Regions from separate parts of the Homo sapiens genome. Here region 1 is linked to region 2. The links are contacts of gene promoters, found by promoter capture Hi-C in blood cells and fetal thymus (Javierre and others, 2016). All regions are on one chromosome and are shown on one strand. Each heading gives the region's core, a stretch centred on a gene start or on the middle of the fragment in contact. The rest is flanking DNA. Distances are from core to core; before and after follow the strand shown.

Region 1 (4,179 bases), core at 777-3,276, 200 kb after region 2:
TGTTTGGACATTGTCCCTGCTTCCTTGACAGTGGGCTTCATCTGACAGCAGATCCTTGCTTCCACCCAGGACTCCTTTCCACATGTTCCCACTCTTGCATGTGAACCACTGACATGTACAATGCGTTCACAAATACTGGGCTAGCAACCTAACGGCTGGCATGGGATATGACATCAACGCCTTTGGATAATAACTGTAAAACTCGATAGCTCATTTTCTAACCTCTCAGGAGTACTTAGAGCCTAAGAAGCTGCTGTCTAGAGCAACAGACTTTCATCCTGATATTGGGCTGCTTATAGCAGCCATACAAAGAGTGAAGCACAGAGAATGACAGAGAGAAAGAAAGAGAAAACTGAGATTGAGAGCTGAGAGAGACATACACAGGGAGAGGCAAATAAAGACAACGTGGCATCATGCTTATAGTATCTGGAACACACTTCCAGGATTAATAACAAAAGCGGAATCTGTCACATTTTCCCACTGATTTGTCAGCTCCTTGAAGATCGCCTTTTGCTTGCATTGACACTAAGTAAAATTGATGAGGAGGAAAGCACTGTCATGCTGAACAGGCAGTGCTTAACTCATATTTGGTAACAAAGCACAAAAGACCATACCATAATGTCCTAAAGAAATCTGTTCCTGACATTGCTACAAGGATTAAAACAGCTGTTAATTTTGCACAGGTTTAATCTTCCCAAGTTCCTGCCTGTTACCTCCTTTTAAGTCACCTGCTTCTTGGTTTAAAGTATTTTGCTAAATTCTACACATCCTATCAAACAACCAGTTTTTTTTTTAATTTTACTCAATTTACCTCCCCTTCTTTCTCTTCTATTATCAGTTGGATGGCCTTCTAAAGTCATTATTTTCTATTAGCATTTTCTCTGTTCCTTTTTATTCTAGTCAATATCTACACATTTTGAAATATACAAATCTACAGTAAAATAACCAAAATAAACAAGTAAAAGCAGGCAGAACCTGAGCCTGATATTTCAGGTTGTTGCTTTTTTGTCTCTCTTTTTTTTTTCAATTCCATATATTCTTTTCTCTTCTTTGTATTTTTTCAAGAAATGAAATTAAATGCACTACAGCTCCTCAGGAATGAGTAAATTCAAGATAAAAGTTGAGTAACAATCTTTAGAAACAAAAATTTGTCTGAATTTAAAACTGTTAAGCTTCCATTTTTCCCAAACTAAATTGGTAAACTATGGGGAAAAAAGTAATATGAAGCAGTTTAACTTTTGATTTGAGTACAGACAACATGTTGGCTAATTTGTATTGATTATATCTGCCAATCTAGATGCAATCACACTTTTAAAAGCAGAGTCCTGTAATTTGCTTTTCTATAAAATGTCACCAATGCATTAAATACTTCGAAAACAGTCTTTGTAAATCAATCTGTACTTATTAGATTTATTTAAATGATAGCATTAGAATTCCATGCCGAGATTTAATCTGGTTTTAAAATAACTCCCTACATGCAGAACACTTCCTAGGGTGGGAGAGGCTAGTTCCCAATTATTTTCATGCCGTCAGTACTAAAAGTATTTAATGACTCACTTACCTACAAGCTGTGAGTTGCCTGAAGACCTCTCCATTCAGTGGGATGTACACATTTTACTTAAGGCTATTTTACAGGAAAAAAAAAAAAAAGGGAAGAGTGCAGAACCACAGCATTTTCAAATGAAATGAAAAATGAAAGATCTTACCTTGTTCGTGTCAAAGGTATTATAAACTTGATCAATATGTTTATTGGCCTTCTGATTCAGACCTTGCAGACCCAAAAGTGTCTTAAATTCATGTAGTGTTTGCAGGCCGGATGGATATTCCATCATAAATGTTCTGTACCACACATGGGTCTCTTGTGTAGGAACTGCTTTCTGATCACCAGCTATAGATTTGCCATTCCCCATCTTGACTCACAGTCTACAGCTTTTCCTCAGGTTGTTTTCACTTAAGTTTTTGCTGGATTTAGTCCCTTACTCCTCACTAAAACTGAAGGCTAACATATGCCCTCAGAAAGCTACTCTAAACCTCTTACAGCAACAAGCTAAATAAGAATAGAAAGCCAGTGAGATTAACTTATCTGCCCAGTTTTAAAACCAAGGTCACTTGGCACTTGGTAACTAACATGCTTACAGTCATGCAGAGACATAGTTTTTTGTGAAGGGAACACGCAATATTTTAGAGAGGGTGATCCTTGTTATATTGTTAGCCATAAATTTTGCCTACATTATTGAGTGGTACAGTGGGTCTAATGGCAGGAACTTTGAGTTGCAATCAGGAAGCCTAGATTCTATGCTTTGTTCTACCACTTATTAACTATATTGAAACATTACTTACATTCTCGTGTTTCCTCATCTGTAAAACAGTAATAAAAGTTTCTGCCTTTTCATACCTGAGTATTGTGAAGATATATTTAGATAACATTTTACATGAAAAAATCATACATTGAGTATTATTAAAAAGAAGTCTATGTATAAGAGAGAAAAATAGGTAAAGAGAATTAAATAGTAGTAAGAAGAACTTCAGATGTAGTAGTCAGATAAAGGAACATATTGGGCTGTGTCTTCTGGCAGTGTTCTTCCTTTCTCTCCCCCACCCTCTGTTCTTACCTTTTTCTGGTCTCTCAAGTATCTACACATGCCACTGGCCTGCCAGCTTTATCTCACTCCAGTTTTCTAATCTGGCTAATCTTGTCCTAACCAAGCCCCATTTGCCAATGAACTTAAGAACAGGGTCAATGGACCTAAGAACTGTATCCAAGGTCCAGTAGTGGAAATGAATGCTTTGTGTGGTCCTCAACCCATTTTGGTACCAACCATACTTAGAACCAGAAAACCCCAGGTAGAATATAATTCTGTTACCCCTAAATTATAGTTCTCCTTTTTTTTTTTTTTTTTTTGAGATGGAGTCTCGCTCTGTCCCTCAGGCTGGAGTGCAGTGGCATGATCTCAGCTCACTGCAAGCTCCACCTCCTGGGTTCACGCCATTCTCCTGCCTCAGCCTCCAGAGTAGCTGGGACTACAGGCGCCCGCCACCACGCCCAGCTAATTTTTTGTATTTTTAGTAGACATGGGGTTTCACCGTGTTAGCCAGGATGGTCTCGATCTCCTGACCTCATGATCCGCCTCAGCCTCCCAAAGTGCTGGGATTACAGGCACAAGTCACCACACCTGGCCTACAGTTCTCTTTTCTAACCTCACTCAATTCTTTCTTTTATTTTCATTTTGGCCCAGCTCATATATCTGGTCTCTGTCTTTGTCCCTATTCCTTAGTCCTGACTGATTACCTGTTTATTATGAAACCCTTGATTCCTAAGAAGTAGCCATCATGGCCTAAATGAACTGCCTTGACCAGAAGTGGTGGTGGTTACAGTGAATATGGTTAATTTTGTTTCAAACATATCAATGTAGACTCTCAATGGGACATTTCGATGTCATAATTAGAGTTAAATAAAAGGGCTGGGCACAGTGGCTCATGCCTGAAATCTCAGCACTTTGGGAGGCCAAGGTGGGTGGATCCCTTGAGGTCAGGAGTTCGAGACCAGCTTGGGCAACTGGTGAAATCCCATTTCTACTAAAAATACAAAAATTAGCCGGGCATAGTGGTGCACGCCTGTAATCCCAGCTACTCGGGAGGCTGAGGCAAGAGAATCAGTTGAATCCTGGAGGCAGAGGTTGCAAGTGAACTGAGATTGTGCCACTGCACTCCAGCCTGGGCGACAGTGAGACTCTGTCTAAAAAAAAAAAAAAAAAAAAAAAAAAAAAAAAAAAAAAAAAGGTGAAAATAAGGTCATAGAATGTAAAACTCACCCATTTGAACCCATTTGAAAGAATTACTTGAAACCATTAAAGTGAATGATACTCTTTTTTGGACAGTAAAAAGGACAAAGGGGAGACAGTGAGGACTCAGCCTCGGGATTATTCAGCTAGGAATTAGAGAAATATCCTGCTAGAATTTTCAAAAAGCATTCTTTGGGGAAGTCCCCTTTAAGACTGTTTCTAAATGTCTGCCAGAGGATGCTCAGAGGTGCTGACTTTTTATCACCATTAACATTTATTAATCACTAATTTTTAAATTAAAGAAAAAATGGATACAGATGATGGCAGAGGAAGGTAGTAAAAGTTTTCAAGGAGGCAGGAAAATCCTTTGAGGAAGGAAAACTTTGGATGGATCAAG
Region 2 (4,363 bases), core at 1-2,500:
TGATAAATTCACCTCTCTGTTGGCCCCTACCCATCAAAACAGAGGAATAGATTGGAAAGAGAAATGAAGTATGTGATCATTATGGGACAATGGAGGAGAGGAAGGGCTGAGAAACAGGGGCATGAAGTGAAGGGGTGAAAGGAAGAGGCAGAAGCCCAAGATCCCCCAGTAGCATCCTTCAGGGAAACAAGAATGGGCAAGGGGTCTCTGGGAACCAAGAGTCATGACTCAGCCCCAGGGTGCCAGGGTGATACAGACCTGACATGGGGGAAGACGTAGGTGCAGGGAGATGGACAGGGGAGGATACAGGGCATCGTAGTCGCCATTCCCTCTCAGGGAGTTACTCACCAGCAGGGCAGGAGGACGGTCTGCCTTGGCTTTTGACACTAGCACACGAGAGCTTCTTGCTTATAGGAGAGGGACTGTACTCTGAGTAGGAAAGAAGAAAGGGTACATCCCATGAGCTATCCTCCCCATAATCCCCTTATCCCCTTCCAAATTGTCTTCTACCTTGGAGGTGACACTGTGTCCAGAATCAGCCTACTCATCAGCTTTTAAGGTTAGTTTCCTCATTTTTAAAGCAGAAGTAATAGTTGTCCTTACCTCATAAAATGGTTGTGGGAATTAAATGAAATAATCTACGTAAAACTTGGATTATACCTGGTTCATAATGAGTGTTCATAAATTACAGCTACCATTCTCCTCCACCTCTTCCTCCTCATCAGGAAAACCTCAGCTTTTAGCCAAGACTTCAAACACGGGTAGGGTAGTGTAGAAAGCCCTCATCAGGGGTTGGGCTTGGTTGGGATCTTGGGATGGGATAGAGACAAAGCTAGAGTTTAAGAACAGGAGAAATGAGCAAGGGTCAACCCCCCGCTTCCCCTACCCCAGTCAGTTACCTAGACTGTTGAGAACATCCTTGATCTTCTTATCCATAACGGAGTCTAAGGAACACTGAGTACTCCCCGGGTTGATCAGCTGGAGAAGGGGGATTAGGATGAGAAGGAGGCAAGAGGACGGCCCCATCCTGTACAGAGTCAGTGTCCTGGGGCTGGGAGAAAAGATGGAAAGCAGCTTAGATCTCTGAGCTCCTGGGTGGTGGTGAAGGAAAGAAGACAACGTGGTTAGTTTCCAGGGAGTAAAGATGGAAGAACAGCGTCATCAGTACTGGATCTCTTTAGGCAGTTTGGAGAAGCAGGTAGGGTTGCTGAAGAACAGATTTATTCACCAAAACATTCAGAGAAGGTCTACAAGGACTAGCCAGGCAAGGGCGTTTTAATACACCTGGTATTAACCTGGGCACCTTTAACATACAAGCACACACAAACATGTAAACACACTCCCAGCACACTTTCAAAGACCTGTGCCAGCTAGGGTAACAGGTGACTGTGATAAACTTTGGAGTGTTCATGAGAAGCAACAGCTGCCTTTGCTCTGGATCTCTGCCAAGGGAGTCCTCCTGCCTTTTTGTTCTCCTTCTCCTTTCTTCTTGGCAACCCGATAAGGCTAGCACCTGGGCCTTCTGTGGTCTGCCGGTATTATAGGCTTCTTGTTTGATCCTTCATCAGGAAGAGGTTACTTTGCAGTTAACAAACAAATTAATCCACCCATCATCTATCCCAAACCCAAGTGTATGCTCTTTCTTATCTCTGTTGGCTGAGGGAGGGCCCTACTTGTCACCTGTTCAGACACCATTTTATTGTCCCTGGCCAATCTCATTTGGAGGAAAGTCACAGAAAGACTAATTAATCCTGGATTAAAAATAAGGAAGTTCAGTATTTACTTAACTAGAAGCATGGTTTATGATTCCAGAGTTCTTTTGGGGGCTCATAAAGTTTCCCTTTTTCCCCCACCATTCTCAGCTAATCTTTCGATCTTGTCTCCTCATGGTCACAAGGTAGAAGGTGCCACATCCTCAGCCCAGACCCTGAGCAGGAAGGAAGGAGTGGGGCAAGGCCACTTTCTGTAGGGGCTTTACCTTTTTATTTTAAGAGCAAGATCTTTCTCTAGAAGCTCAAGAAGATTTCCCCTTACATTCCACTGTTTGGTTCTGGGTCACACAACCTCCCTTTCTATCAGCTATGGCTGAAAAAGAGAGCTGGGCTTCACAATTCCTTATCCAAGACCTGGGGCCCAGGTATGTTTCAGAACTCAGAATGTTTCAGATTATGGAAGGTGCAAATTCTGTATATTATGTTAAACCACCAAGGAGGTTGGGGGCAGCACTCTGCAGTCTAATGCATAAATAGCCTGATGCAAAATGTATGAATATTAATGTGGGATAAATAAAAGACCATAAAGAGCCTCACACCAGGCCATGCCAAGTTTTTCTGCCAAATGAGTTAGCCTCAAATTTAGGACAGAACATTTTCATCTTTAGAGCCTTTTAGATTTTAGAATAATGGATAAGGGATTGAGGACTTTGAGGATTCACATATGGCCAAGAGGAATGAGGATGCCATGATTCCTCATCTAGGATGGGGCATGTGGCCACCATGAATAAATAAAATTTAAAGAAGTGCAGATGAAGAAGCAGAGAAAGGGGCCATGTGTTGTGGCTCATGCCCATAATTCCAATACTTTGATAGGCTGAGGCAGGAGGGTCTCTTGAGCACAAGAGTTCAAGACCAGCCTGGGCAACATAGTGAGACTCTATCAAAAAAAAAAAATTTACTGGGAGTGGTACCATGCATTTGTGGTCCCGGCTACTTAGGAGACTGAGGCAGGAGGATCACTTGAGCCTCAAGGTTGCAGTGAGCTGAGATTGTTTCACTGCACTCCAGCCTGGATGACAAAGCAAGACCTTGCCTCAAAAATAAATAAAATAAAATAAAATAAAATGAGAAGCAGAAAAAGGCAGTTAGGTGACTATTCCTTGAGGCAGTCAGAGCTGGAAAGGCTGGGCTCTACCTCTGTGACCAGCCTTTCTGCCCACTTTCCTGGAGATGCCCTCTAATGAACAGCTATTACTTATACATATCTCTCTCAGGCAACTTTGAGAAATGAGGCCTGGAGATGCCAGCAAAAAGGCAAGGATGCTTCCTCAATTACCAGACAGGAGTTGAAGAGAAGAAAAATGAGACTGGAGAATAAGAAAGAGCATACACTTGGATTTGGGATACATGATGGGTTGATTAATTGTTTGCTAATTCAATGAAAATTTGTAGAGCTTCTCTTTACCAGCTCTAGCTCTGCTGACTCAGTGGTGGACAACGTAGACAAGCTCTTTGCCCTTTTGTAATGGGGGAGATAAATACAGTGTATATACATATACTGTATTTATATATATGTATGTATGTGTATATATATATATGTATGTATATATATACATATATATATGTATGTATGTGTATACATACATATGTATGTATGTGTATACATACATATGTATGTATGTGTATACATACATATGTATGTATGTGTATACATACATATGTATGTATGTGTATACATACATATGTATGTATGTGTATACATACATATGTATGTATGTGTATACATACATATGTATGTATGTGTATACATACATATGTATGTATGTGTATACATACATATGTATGTATATATGGTCAAGTATTGAGAAATGCTGTAAAGAAAAATAAGTCAAGACAAGGCAATAGAGTGTGCCACTGTGCTATTGCCCATAATGCAGTATGTTCAGGAAAGGTGTCTCAGAAAAGGTAACAATGACCTGAAGAAGTGAGGGGGTGAGTCACAGGAAAATCTGGGACAAATGTTCTAGCCTGTGGAACAAGTATAAAGAGCCCACGGCAGAGAGTTGGTTAGTGTGTTGAAAGAATGACAACAATGGCAATATGGCCAGAATGAAGTATAGGGGGAAGGCCAGAGAAGAAGTCAGAGAGCTGACCAGGGCCAGATTATATAGAGCTTGTAAGCCAATGTAAGGGCTTTGGATTTTATTATAAATTTGACAGCAAATTATTGTAGTGTTTTGTTCAGGGGAGTGACATAAAATGATTTATGGTTTTCTAATGTTTAATTTTTCTTTTTTTTTTGGAGATAGGGTCTAGTTCTGTTGCCCAAGCTGGAGTGCAGTGGTGTGATCATGGCACTGCAGCCTCAAACTCCTGGGCTCAAGTGATCCTTGTGCCTAAGCCTTCCAAGTAGCTGGGACTATAATAGTGTGCCATCACACCCGGCTATTTAAAAAAAAATTTTTTTTTGTAGAGACAAGGCCTTATTATGTTGCCTAAGCTAGTCTTGAATGCCTGAGCTCAAGTGATCCCCCCATCTCGCTTCCCAAAGGTGAAATTACAGGTGTGACCCACTGTGCCTGGCCCTGATTAATGTTTTATAAAGCTTACTATGGCCACTGTGGAAGAGACACCGCGGAGGGAAAACA

What was found. The method cuts DNA at HindIII sites, captures the fragments that hold promoters and counts their contacts. A CHiCAGO score of 5 or more calls a contact.
Region 1: the fragment with the promoter of GUCA1C here is called in contact with the fragment with the promoter of RETNLB in region 2 in 10 of 17 cell types (total CD4 T cells, total B cells, naive CD8 T cells and 7 more); the score reaches 10.2 in total CD4 T cells.

Annotation. Positions count from the first base shown.
Region 1 is chr3:108,951,853-108,956,031 of GRCh38, forward strand. GUCA1C (guanylate cyclase activator 1C) reads right to left here and starts at 2,027. Exons shown (of 4, transcript NM_005459.4): 1 at 1,707-2,027. The coding sequence starts at 1,910. The HindIII fragment of the contact is 5,644 bases long and covers 1,171-4,179 here.
Region 2 is chr3:108,756,160-108,760,522 of GRCh38, forward strand. It overlaps RETNLB (resistin like beta), which reads right to left and starts at 1,251. Exons shown (of 3, transcript NM_032579.3): 1 at 900-1,251; 2 at 349-429. The coding sequence starts at 1,026. The HindIII fragment of the contact is 7,429 bases long and covers 1-4,318 here.